Linked DNA regions of Homo sapiens: regions 1 and 3 are each linked to region 2. The links are contacts of gene promoters, found by promoter capture Hi-C in blood cells and fetal thymus (Javierre and others, 2016). All regions are on one chromosome and are shown on one strand. Each heading gives the region's core, a stretch centred on a gene start or on the middle of the fragment in contact. The rest is flanking DNA. Distances are from core to core; before and after follow the strand shown.

Evidence for each region. The method cuts DNA at HindIII sites, captures the fragments that hold promoters and counts their contacts. A CHiCAGO score of 5 or more calls a contact.
Region 1: a contact is called between a fragment that was not itself captured here and the fragment with the promoter of PPIL4 in region 2, in 2 of 17 cell types (neutrophils and naive CD4 T cells). The highest score is 9.8, in neutrophils.
Region 3: a fragment that was not itself captured here is called in contact with the fragment with the promoter of PPIL4 in region 2 in 1 of 17 cell types (non-activated CD4 T cells); the score reaches 5.7 in non-activated CD4 T cells.

Annotation. Positions count from the first base shown.
Region 1 is chr6:149,268,549-149,272,014 of GRCh38, reverse strand. It overlaps a transcript of TAB2 not described here. Among named protein-coding and RNA genes, the nearest start is that of TAB2-AS1, 13 kb to the right of the region's middle. RefSeq lists a silencer at 1-36 and an enhancer at 567-666. The HindIII fragment of the contact is 9,013 bases long and covers 1-3,466 here.
Region 2 is chr6:149,543,617-149,547,319 of GRCh38, reverse strand. It overlaps PPIL4 (peptidylprolyl isomerase like 4), which reads left to right and starts at 1,277. Exons shown (of 13, transcript NM_139126.4): 1 at 1,277-1,384. The coding sequence starts at 1,315. RefSeq lists enhancers at 1-384, 1,088-1,387. The HindIII fragment of the contact is 2,652 bases long and covers 389-3,040 here.
Region 3 is chr6:149,285,882-149,289,646 of GRCh38, reverse strand. It overlaps a transcript of TAB2 not described here. Among named protein-coding and RNA genes, the nearest start is that of TAB2, 30 kb to the left of the region's middle. The HindIII fragment of the contact is 467 bases long and covers 1,754-2,220 here.

The DNA of each region.
Region 1 (3,466 bases), core at 717-3,216, 280 kb after region 2:
AGTCTTTGGGGGGTTGGGGGTGGGGCTAGGGACTGTGTGGTGTGGGTTTTGTGTGGGCGTCTGACACTGTTGATGCTCAGCGTCCTTCAGAGTGTGAGGCCACTTAACTCCTTTCTGTCTTCAGCTTGAAGTGAGCAAAGGAACATCTTATTCAACTTTCCGTTAACCTCAAAAGTAACTTTGAGTTTGCAAAAGGCAGCTTCTGCTTTCTGGTTGTCCGTGAGTATGAGTAAGAAGATCTGATTTTAGTTACCACACCTCCATTTCCTCTCTATGCTGGACTGCTATGTGATCCCCTACGTAGACTCTTCCATAGAGTAGGGTTTTAAGCAGAGCACATGATTGTCCAGCTAAATAGTTCATTTTCAAGTTTTCTGAGCAGCTAGCTGTAGATAGGTAACTAATATGTGGCCAAAAGGATGTTAGTAACTTCTGGGTCATGTCCTGTAACTTCTGGGTCATGTCCTAAAAAGGAAGTAGCTTGTGCTCTGCCTTCTCTTTTCACTCAGGTAGAAATGCAGATAAAGTGAGAGTGAATTAACTTTAACTAACAGATGAGAACAATAGGCCCGAGGGTAATAGAGCCACAGGCTAGAAAGAACCTGGGTCTCTGGATGACCTCATGGAGCAGAGCTTTTTTCTTACCCTTAGGTAAGATTAAGTTATGTACTAGCACACCAATGAAATTATTTACATCCCTAGAACAGGAACCCTGTCCATTATTTTTATGTGTGTTTTACAGAGCAGGAGTTTCCAAACACAGTCAGGTCAATAATATTCTTTTTTAAAAAATATATATATTTTTTAGAGATAAGGTCTCACTCTGTCACTCAGGCTGGAGTACAGTGGGGCAATCATAGCTCACTGCAGCCTCTAACTCCTGGGCTCAAGCAATCCTCTTACCTAAGCCTCCCAAGTAGCTAACAGTAATATTTTTGACAGTATTTTCAACTAAGTCAAAATGAAAAAAAAAAGAATAAGGTGCAGAGAGATAGAGCGACATGGCAGCAGATTCATTCCAACTTCAGGGCTTTCATTATTATACCACCCCGTAACCCTCTGACTACCCAGTTTTTTGCAACAGCAGTGGATCAGTAATACTTCTCACTCTTCAAGACCAGAATCCTTCAAGACAGTACCTCCTCTATGTCATCTTCACCACTCTTTTATGTGATACACTTCCTCTAGATCCAAAAAAGAGAAGAAACTGAAAGACAAAGCTGGGCGAGTTGACCATGTGTACGTCGGAGAGGCTTGCCCCAAGCTCTGGATAATACATCACTGGTGCCATGTGCATCTGTGATGAAAATGTGCAAGGTCTGGATTCTAAATGTTGTTTTAAAAATGTGTTAATTTTTACTTTTTAAATTGACAAGTAAAAATTATATATATTTATGGTGTAAAACATGATGTTTTGATAGATGTATAGATTGTAGAATGTTAAATCTAGCTAATTAACATGTTCATGACCTCATATACTTATCATTATTTTTGTGGTGAGAATACTTAAAATCTACTCTCTTAGCGGTTTTGAAGTATTCAATATACTGTTATTAACTATAGTCATCGTGCTATACAATAGATCTCTTGAACTAAAGAAAAAAAGGAATAATGCAGTGGTAAAGAAAATGAAAAGCCACAGACTGGTAAGAAGTACTTGCAAAACATATATCTGATAAAGAACTAGTGTAAAGAACTCTCAAAACTCAATAATAGGAAAACCATAGAGCCCAGTTAAAAAATGAGCAGAAGAATTCAACCAACATTTGATCAAAGAAGCTACATGGATGGCAAATAAGCACATAAAAAGATGTTTTACATCGCTAATAATTAGGGAAATGCAAATCAAGACCACAAATACCATTAAACACTGAATTGGAATAGCTAAAATAAACAAAAATCAACATTATCAAACATTAGCAAGAATTTGGAGCAATTGGAACTCTCATCTATTGCTGATGTGGCTGCAAAATGGCACAGCCCTTTGGAAAACAGTTTGGCAGCTTTTTGTAAAGTTAAATGTATGCTTGCTGTAGGACCCAGCAATTTCTTTCCTAGGTATTTACCCACGTGAAATGAAAACCTATGTCCACACAAAAATCTGTATGTGAATCTTTATATTGACTTCGTTTGTAATCACCAAAAACTGGAAACAACCAAATGTCACTCAGTTGGGCAATGGATAAACAAAATGTGATACATTCATGTAGTTGAATACTACTTAGCAATAAAAGAAACGAATTACAGATATATGCAACAACATGGCTATATCTCATATATACCAAGTGAAAGAAGGCAAAGACCTTATCCTGTATGATTTCACCTTATGAAACGAATGATACATGATAATCTTGCAAAGGTAAAACTACAAGGACAGATAACCAATCAATGGTTGCCAGGGGCTGGGGTAGGGAGAGGAGTGGATTGCAAAGGGGTGAAAAGGAATTTTTTAGGGTGATGTAACTGTTTTACTTAACTATTGCATCCTGGTGGTGGTTACACAACTCTATACACTTTTCAAAACTTGAAGAACTGCACAATAAAAAGGGTAAAAATCTACTTTAATCTTCTGTAAATTGAACCTTAATATAAAAAAGGAAAAAAGAATAATATAGTGAATTTTTAATAAAAGTATTCAATTTAAAAATGGTATCTATCACATACACATAATTCATAGCACTAGGTTGTTGATAACCTAGCGTAACTTCTTTTACCACGTCAAATAGGAGAAAATAGGTCCTAGGCTGTGAGGCTTTGGCTTGTTGAAACTCTGCTATTTACAATTTACTCAAAGGATGTATCATTTTATTCGCAGCACAAAGGCTAATGAAACAGCTTTTATTTAGGTATTATGCCTCAGACTCAATTTTCAACAACCTTAAATAAAAACAATGTTATGTCTTTGTAGTCCCAGAGAATGCTAATCAATTCAACTCAATATCCCTGAGTATACTTATGTATTGCACAAGGAACCTAAGATTCAGAGGGGATAAAGGAATAGCAAAGGTTCCACAGCAGGAGCCCCTTGTACTTTGATAAAGATTTGGAGGGTTTCCAGCTCCCAGACTCATGCTTAGTCCACTAGGTCACTTTGAAAAGTAATTTGATATGAAAAAGATCGACTCATTCTGTAGCTAAGAGAATTGGAAACAACTACTGTACTGTGTGTATGTTTTATAAACAAGTTTTTATTACACAAGCAGTATATGTTCACATGTTTAGTGTGGAGAAATTAGAAAAGATAGTCATATACAAGAAATTGCAGACACAATGAATGCATACTCCACCACAGCAAGTGTCGAGAAATTCTCTTCTTTGTTACATATACGAAAGGAAGAAAATAAATATGATTTGCTAGGCAGTGGTTCTCCATGTATGCAAAGACACCTCGTGTTATTATTTTAAGGTGTTACACTGATGTTACACTAAGTCCAATTGCTCCGAGAATTTATCCAATGCAAGGATC
Region 2 (3,703 bases), core at 28-2,527:
GTGGCTTCAGAGGAATAAGAAGATGGCGTAGGATGGGGTAGGAGAGGATCTTGTAAATCATTATAAAAGCTCTGGCTTTTCCGCCAGGTGCGGTGGCTCAAGCCTGTAATCCCAGCACTTTGGGAGGCGGAGGCGGGCGGATCCACGAGGTCAGGAGGTCGAGACCATCCTGGCTAACACGGTGAAACCCGGTCTCTACTAAAAACACAAAAAATTAGCCGGGCGTGATGGCGGACACCTGTAGCCCCAGCAACTCGGGAGGCGGAGGCAGGAGAATGGGGTGAACCCGGGAGGCGGAGCTTGCAGTGAGCCGAGATCGCGCCACTGCACTCTAGACTGGGCGACAGAGCGAGACTCCGTCTCAAAAAAAAAAAAAAAAAAAAAAGCTTTGGCTTTTCGTCAGATGTGAAGTTATTGGAGATTATGTGTAAAATGTCATAAGAAAGAGTGACAGGCTTGCCCAGAAGAGTGTCTGGGGAATAAACTTGCATGGCAAAATGTTAGTTTTGGCCAGGCGCAGTGGCTCACGCCAGTAATCTCAGCACTTCGGGAGGCCAAGGCGGGAAGAGTTCGAACTCCTTGAGCTCAGGAGTTTGAGACCAGTCTGAGCAACATAGTGAGACCACCTCCCCCGACCGCCATCTCTACAAAAAATAAAAGAACAAAATTAGCCGGGCGTGGTGGCGCGCGCCTGTGGTCACTTGGGAGGCTGAGACAGGAAAATCGCTGGAGCCCGGGAGGTGGAGGTTGCAGTGAGCCGACATCGCGCCACTGCACTCCAGCCTGGGCAACAGAGCGAGACCCTGTCTCAAAACAGAAAACAAAACAAAATGTTAGTTCTTAGAATCGGAAACCCCTAGTAGAGGCCCAAAGTTGTTTTGCGAAAAGGAGACTGACGAGGAAACCCGGAGGAGTCCGCCCAAATAGGTGGAGAGAAGATCCCGCCGCGGGCGCCCCCTGGTGGATAAAAGGGCCGCGCGGAGGGCCGCTCTGCTCTTGAGACGGACACAAACGGGGCACAAAACACTATACTGAGACCGTTCTGAGGGACAGGCTTCCACCAAAATCGCCAAGGGCGGACCAGGATTTTCAAAACGGCCGCGCCGGGGGCGGGACCAACCCGATCCGTAAGTCAGCTGGGCAGCCCGGCGCCCGCACGCCGACCGGAAGGAACTGCTCGGAACCGGGGGCGGCGCCGGCGAGATGACGCAAAAGGGGTCGCGCCGAGGGTGACGCGTGGCGTAGACGACGCCGTCGGCCTGCGCCTGTCACCCCCCTCCTCCCGGGGTTTGTAGCGGAGGAGGAGCGGGCGCCATGGCGGTTCTACTGGAGACCACTTTAGGCGACGTCGTCATCGACTTGTACACCGAAGAACGGCCGCGTGGTGAGGCTTGAGCCCCACTCACCTGTCGCCGGGGCCCCCGAGCTTGTCTCCCTACTTTCCCTTCTCTGCGCAGTCCAGGGCAGAGATTGGCTAGAGCTCGAGCTTCTGGGCTGCTGGTGCCCGCGACTGGGCTATTTTATTAACCGGCCTTGGCTAGAAAAGTTTTTGTGACGGGAATTCGTTTGAGCCTTGGCAGCCCTTCTCCCGTATTTTGTGTTGGCCAGTCCGGTGGACGGTGCTTGCGGTCATTAATTGCCTTTGGGAGTGTGTGTGTGGGGCGTGTGTGTGTGTGATTCGAGCTGCACATACAATACCCATAGCTTTTGTGCCTTTATTGTGTTTACTCGTGAGAGGAACATAGGAACTATTGCTTGGTGTGTAATCGGTTAAATCTTGATGAAGGCAGTTAGGGTGTGCTTGGCGCAGCGAGTGTGGGCATACCGCTTAGGTGGAGGAGGAAGAGGTTGTCTGGAGTGTGGACTGAGCCTTCGAGGCACTGGGCTAAGTCCTGGGCTTGGCTTCTTGCCCCCGAGGGTCTGATTTTTCCACTGGGGGAAGTAGACACAGGAACCCATTTTAGTTTTCTATGTGTTATGGTAGAAGAATGTGTAAGTTGCCACGGAAACCAGAAGAGGGCGGCTTCTTTGGTGGGGGGTGGGAAGAAGCAAAGCTAGCGAATACTATATAGAACACTTGAACTAGTTCTTTCAAAGATGAATGGGAATGAGGGTTTTCTTAGCTTGGACTTTCTTTGTTTGGAATTTTCTGGAAACGGCAAGTAGTTTGGTGTGGCTGGAAGGACTGGTGTGAGTCGTGGAATGGTAGACTCGAGTGTGGTCAGATACGCCTAGGTCAGTCGTGAATAGTCTTGTGTGCCCTACTGATGATCAGAGTCCTTGAAGACTTTAAAAGCAGGATTGAGGCATGGCATACTTGTTTTGAGAAGATAATAGGCAGCGGTGTGGAGAATGTATCAGAGTCAGGAAGAAACTGAGACCAGGAGAGATTAGTTACAAACAGGGTCCTACCCACATGGAATGCAGAGCCTATCAAAGAAGGTGAAATAAGTTGCAATATTGTACAATAACTACCTCCTGCCGTGCTCCGCTTTCCCTCGCACGCAGCTATTCCTCCCTCCTCTCCACCTGGCGAAAACACTACAAACTCTCCCGTACCATTGTTACCATTCTTTTGCTGTTTCTTCTAAACAATATTCTTCTCCACTATTGTCCTTCTGGCAAACTTACTACTTATTATCTAAATCTCAGATCAAGCATCATCTCTTCTTTGAAGCTCTCCCTCCTTTCTAAGCAGAGTTACCTGAGGGTTCCTCTGCTGTGTCTTAGGTCTTTTATAAACCACATGACACATTTTATTTTAACATTTACCTATTATCCTGGTGTTGTTTACAAGCGTGCCCTCGCTCAAGAATGTAAACTCCAATGAGAGCAGGAACTATACCATAATTATCATCTCTATATCCTGAGTACCCAGTACAATGTCTGCTACTTTTAGGGCACACACTAGAGGTTCATTATGATGACTAATGGATATAAATGTGTTGTATTAGTTAGGACCCTTTGTTCAAGTGATAGAAACCCAACTCAAACTGGCATAAACAAAATAATTGGTTGCCTCATAATACTGGGGTAAGCTTGGATCGAGTGGCTGGATCGAGTGTTTCAAAGAATATCATAGGGAATTTTGTTTTTTATCTCTTGATTTTGCTTTTCTTTGAGTTCCTTTGACGCTCTGCCCATGTAGAGTAGCACCTGGCAAAATAAATGGGCCTCTTTTCCCAGAGTTATGAGGAAATAAAGGGGTGTAGAGCTACCCCACCCAATTAACAAGCAGTGGGTCTGCAAAGATAAGCCCATAACAATAAGTCCACCCCCTGTACATATTTGTAAGCATATGACTGGAGATGTGCTTACATGTGTACCTGCTATATTTATACTCACTTATCAATCTATGATCAACATATCCAGACTTACCTACCTTCCATTCTTTCTTCCTTTTCTTTTTTAACTTTTTATTATAGAAAATTTAAAACACAGATGTAGAGAGAATCATGTAAATGAACTCTCATGTCCACATGACCAGCTTTGTTTAACAGCTGTGAACACATAGCCAATCTTGCTTCATTTATAATACCCCCACCTCCAGTGCATCTATTTAATCTGTAATTACTTCAGTATGTATTTCTAAAATATAACGTCTCTTTAAAAAAAACAAGAAAAAATGGAACTATGAGCTTAAGTACCACATAAGTGACAGGTTAAAAAAGAAAAAAAACTTGACAGGGAAAAGGGAAAAATA
Region 3 (3,765 bases), core at 738-3,237, 260 kb after region 2:
TGTGTAGTTTCCGGGCATAGGCCCAGCAAGGGGCCCAGTGGCTGGAGTGGACTGGGTGAAGAGAGAGTTGGAAAATGAGGTCAGGTCAGGCAGGACTGTGATTCTCCACGTGGCTGCATGTGGGAAACACCTGTTGAGCTTTTAGAGGCCTCTAGCCCAGGCCCTGACTCACAGTCTCTGGCTTTAAAGGTCTCCCCAGTGATCTATGAGGGACTTTAGGCCATGGTAAGGACTTTGGCCTTTTTTTTTTTTAGAGACAGGGTCTTGCTATGTCACTCAGGCTAGAGTGCAGTGGCATGAACATAGCTCACTATGACCTTGTTCCCCTTGGGCTCAAGCAATCCTCCTGCCCTTGCCTCCCAAAATGCTGGGATTACAGGCATGAGCCACTGCACTCTGCCTGATTTTGCCTTTTATTTTGAGCTAGATGGAGGCCATTGGATGGTTTTGAGCAGATACATGATCTATCTTTTAAAAAGAATCACGTTGACCTGGCATGGTGGCTCACACCTGTAATCTCAGGACTTTGGGAGGCTGAGGCGGGTGGATCACTTGAGGCCAGGAGTTTGAGAGCAGTCTTTCCAACATGGCAAAACCCCATCTCTACTAAAAATACAAAAAATTAGCTGGGCATGGTAGCGTATACCTGTAATCCTAGCTATTCTGGAGGTGGAGGCATGAGAATTGCTTGAACCCAGGCGATGGAGGTTGCAGTGAGCCGAGATTGCACCACTGTACTCCAGCCTGGGAGACAGAGCGAGACTCTGTCTCAAAAAAAAAAAAAAAAAAAAATTAAAAATTAAAAAAAATCACTCTGGTCCTCGTGTTGAGGGGCAAGAGCAGAAGCAGGGAACCCATTGCCTTAAAATAAAGCTATTTGTGTGCAGTCTTACAAAGAACTAATGTTAGTTCAAGTGACTCAGCAGAATATGATTATAAGACATCCTGTAAGTCCTGCTATCAAGTATTGCTTAGTACTTATAAAGTGTATTTCAAGTTCCTTCATGCATAGTACAATTGCAGTATTTGAGAAGTGTTCTGGAGTTAAGCTTTTCACTAATTGGACTTACTTTTTCTGCAGTAGTTGGGGTTGGTGAGGTTTTGGGGAACAAAGAGGAAAAGACCCTTTTCCTGATGTTGTGGCAGTGCCACATCCCTCTCCCTTATCATTCACATCTCAGGGGGCTGGGAGATGGGCAGGACCAGAGAAAAAGGACCTGGTGACAGACAACGGGGCCACAGAGGAGCAATGTCTGCTTGCTGCCGTCTCCTGGAGGGGTGCAGAGTCTACAATGGGGCAGGAGGCCCATAGTCTCTGTGCACTTGTAACTCTGTTCTCTGCTAATTTGCATTGAGATGAATGGACAGGCAGAGGGAACCATGATAACATCTACTCTACTAAGCAGATCCTGGTGTGGGGACTGAGTGACACAAGGACCATTTTACTGGGATATTTGCACCTCAGGTTCGTCATCTGGAGATGATAGTACCATTTTGTAAAGTGTCTTGAGCATTTAGAAGATAGTCCACATATGGTAGTTTGCATAGTACTAGGCCCATAGTAAAGGTTTAACAATATTTACTGTTATCATGCTATTTCTTTATTGCTTATGTGTTTAAAAATTTAACAAATCATAAGCGTAATTTAATTCTTTGCTTAACATAATTTTATGATCGAATTTAAACATTTCACGTTTTTAGGAGTGCATCAAAGCTCCAAATACTATATAGTGAGAAACGATTTAGTGAAGCTTTGCCATATTGAGATTAATGCTTAAGACCTCCTTATAAATAACATGCCCCATGCATAGGTGCTTAGGGCTTTTATTTATGAATCCACTTGAGCAAATGTTCAGCACTAACCTGCCTTTTCCTGAATTTCTCTCCACAGGGAATAGTGATATGTGGCAGTTTAAGAATGCACAATGTCTTTATTTTTAACACATACAAAAAATAAAACTAGGCACAGTACCACATTGAAAACAAGTTCAGTAACAAACTGACTGAGAGCGGCCCTGTGTTTTGTCTGCTGGCTAGGAAGTTAATATATACATCAGCAGTTTGGATTCAAAGAAATGCCTTTACAACAACTTTTAAAAAGCAGAATTCATTGACCATTTGAAAAAGTCACAATTTTCTAATACTTTCTTTTTAAAAAAAAAAACAGAAAACAAAGTTTGCTTGTTATATTCCCTTGTAACTTTATGTGTAGGGGAAGCTTATTATTTCTACCGATTTAATATTTCTGGGAGCATTTCTAGTTCGGGCATAAATGTACACAGTTCAGGGCTTTCTCCAGCTTTATCTATTTGTTTTTCAAACAGTGCTTATTGTTTCTCTATTATAAAAGTAATACATGCTCAATGTAGAAAAACATAAACAAGCAAACAAAACTCACCTATAATCCTTTCACCTGTTGACTCATGTCAATATATTGTTTTGCTTTCAGTCTTTTTTCAGTATACACTTTTTGTGGCTACAGAGTTGAAGGTAAACAATATCTAAATTTTTTTGTTTTTGTTTCGTTTTTGAGATGGAGTCTTGCTCTGTCACTCAGGCTGGAGTGCAGTGGCTCCGTCTCGGCTCACTGCAAACTCTTCCTCCGGAGTTCAAGTGATTCTCCTGTCTGAGCCTCCCGAGTAGCTGAGATTACAGATGCTTACCACCATTCTTGGCTAATTTTTTTATTTTTTAGTAGAAACGGGGTTTTGCCATGTTGGCCAGGCTGGGCTTGAACTCCTGACCTCAGGTGATCCACCCACCTCAGCCTCCCAAAGTGCTGGGATTACAGGTGTGAGCTACCGCGCCCAGCCAATATCTAAATTTTTTAAGTCTCCTTTTTTCCCCTTAATATTATAAGTATTTTCTCGTGCTGCTAATAATTCTTCATTTTTAAGAGCTGCTAAATATGCCAACGTATATTGAAATCATAGCTTGATACTCAGTGAATCCCCTATTGTGATAACTGAGTCTACAGGTTTTGTTATTATAGATAATGCAGTGATGAACGTTTTTGTGCTTAAACCTTCTGTCAGATTATTCCCTCCAGACTGGTTTCTGGAAGATGAATTAATGAGTCAAAGCATCTGAAAGCTTTTAGGGGTTGTGATACATATTGGTAAAGTTCTCTCCAAAAAGTTTGAACCAGTTCGCACCTGTGGAAGTGCTTCAAAAGATGATGGGCTCTCTGGCTTTAATTTTAAAGGGATTTATAAAATGCTTTCCTCATCCTGTTTGAAGAAGCAAAGTAGAATAATATCAAGTATTACCAGTAACCTAGAAAAATTAAATTACCATAAAAAGAAAATAGTTGTCTTAGATCTACAGAAACAACTTGTATAGAGATGTGCACCATATCAATAATATTTGAAAATAGTTTTTCATATTCTGTGCATATATTGCATATGGAAGTCCATTGATACCAACTGGAATTTCTTCTAACTCGCAAATCTTAAGACCATGACGTTAATAACAATTAAATAGCAGTGTGTAATTAAGTTTGAAAAACTTGATTGGAACTACTTACTTGATAAAAAGATACTTTTTTGGTAGTGTATACCTCATTTTTAAAAAAGAATAAATTATTTTAAAGAAACACTAAAATAATTTATAAAATATATTTGTGGTCCTTTTCTTTCCCTGGAAATAAAAGTAAAATTTAGTTGTTTTGAACTTCATAGTGTATTCTTTAGAGCAGTGGTTCTCAACGTGCGTTCTCAGAGCGGCAGTAGATGCATCACCTGGGAACTTGCTAGAAATGCAAAT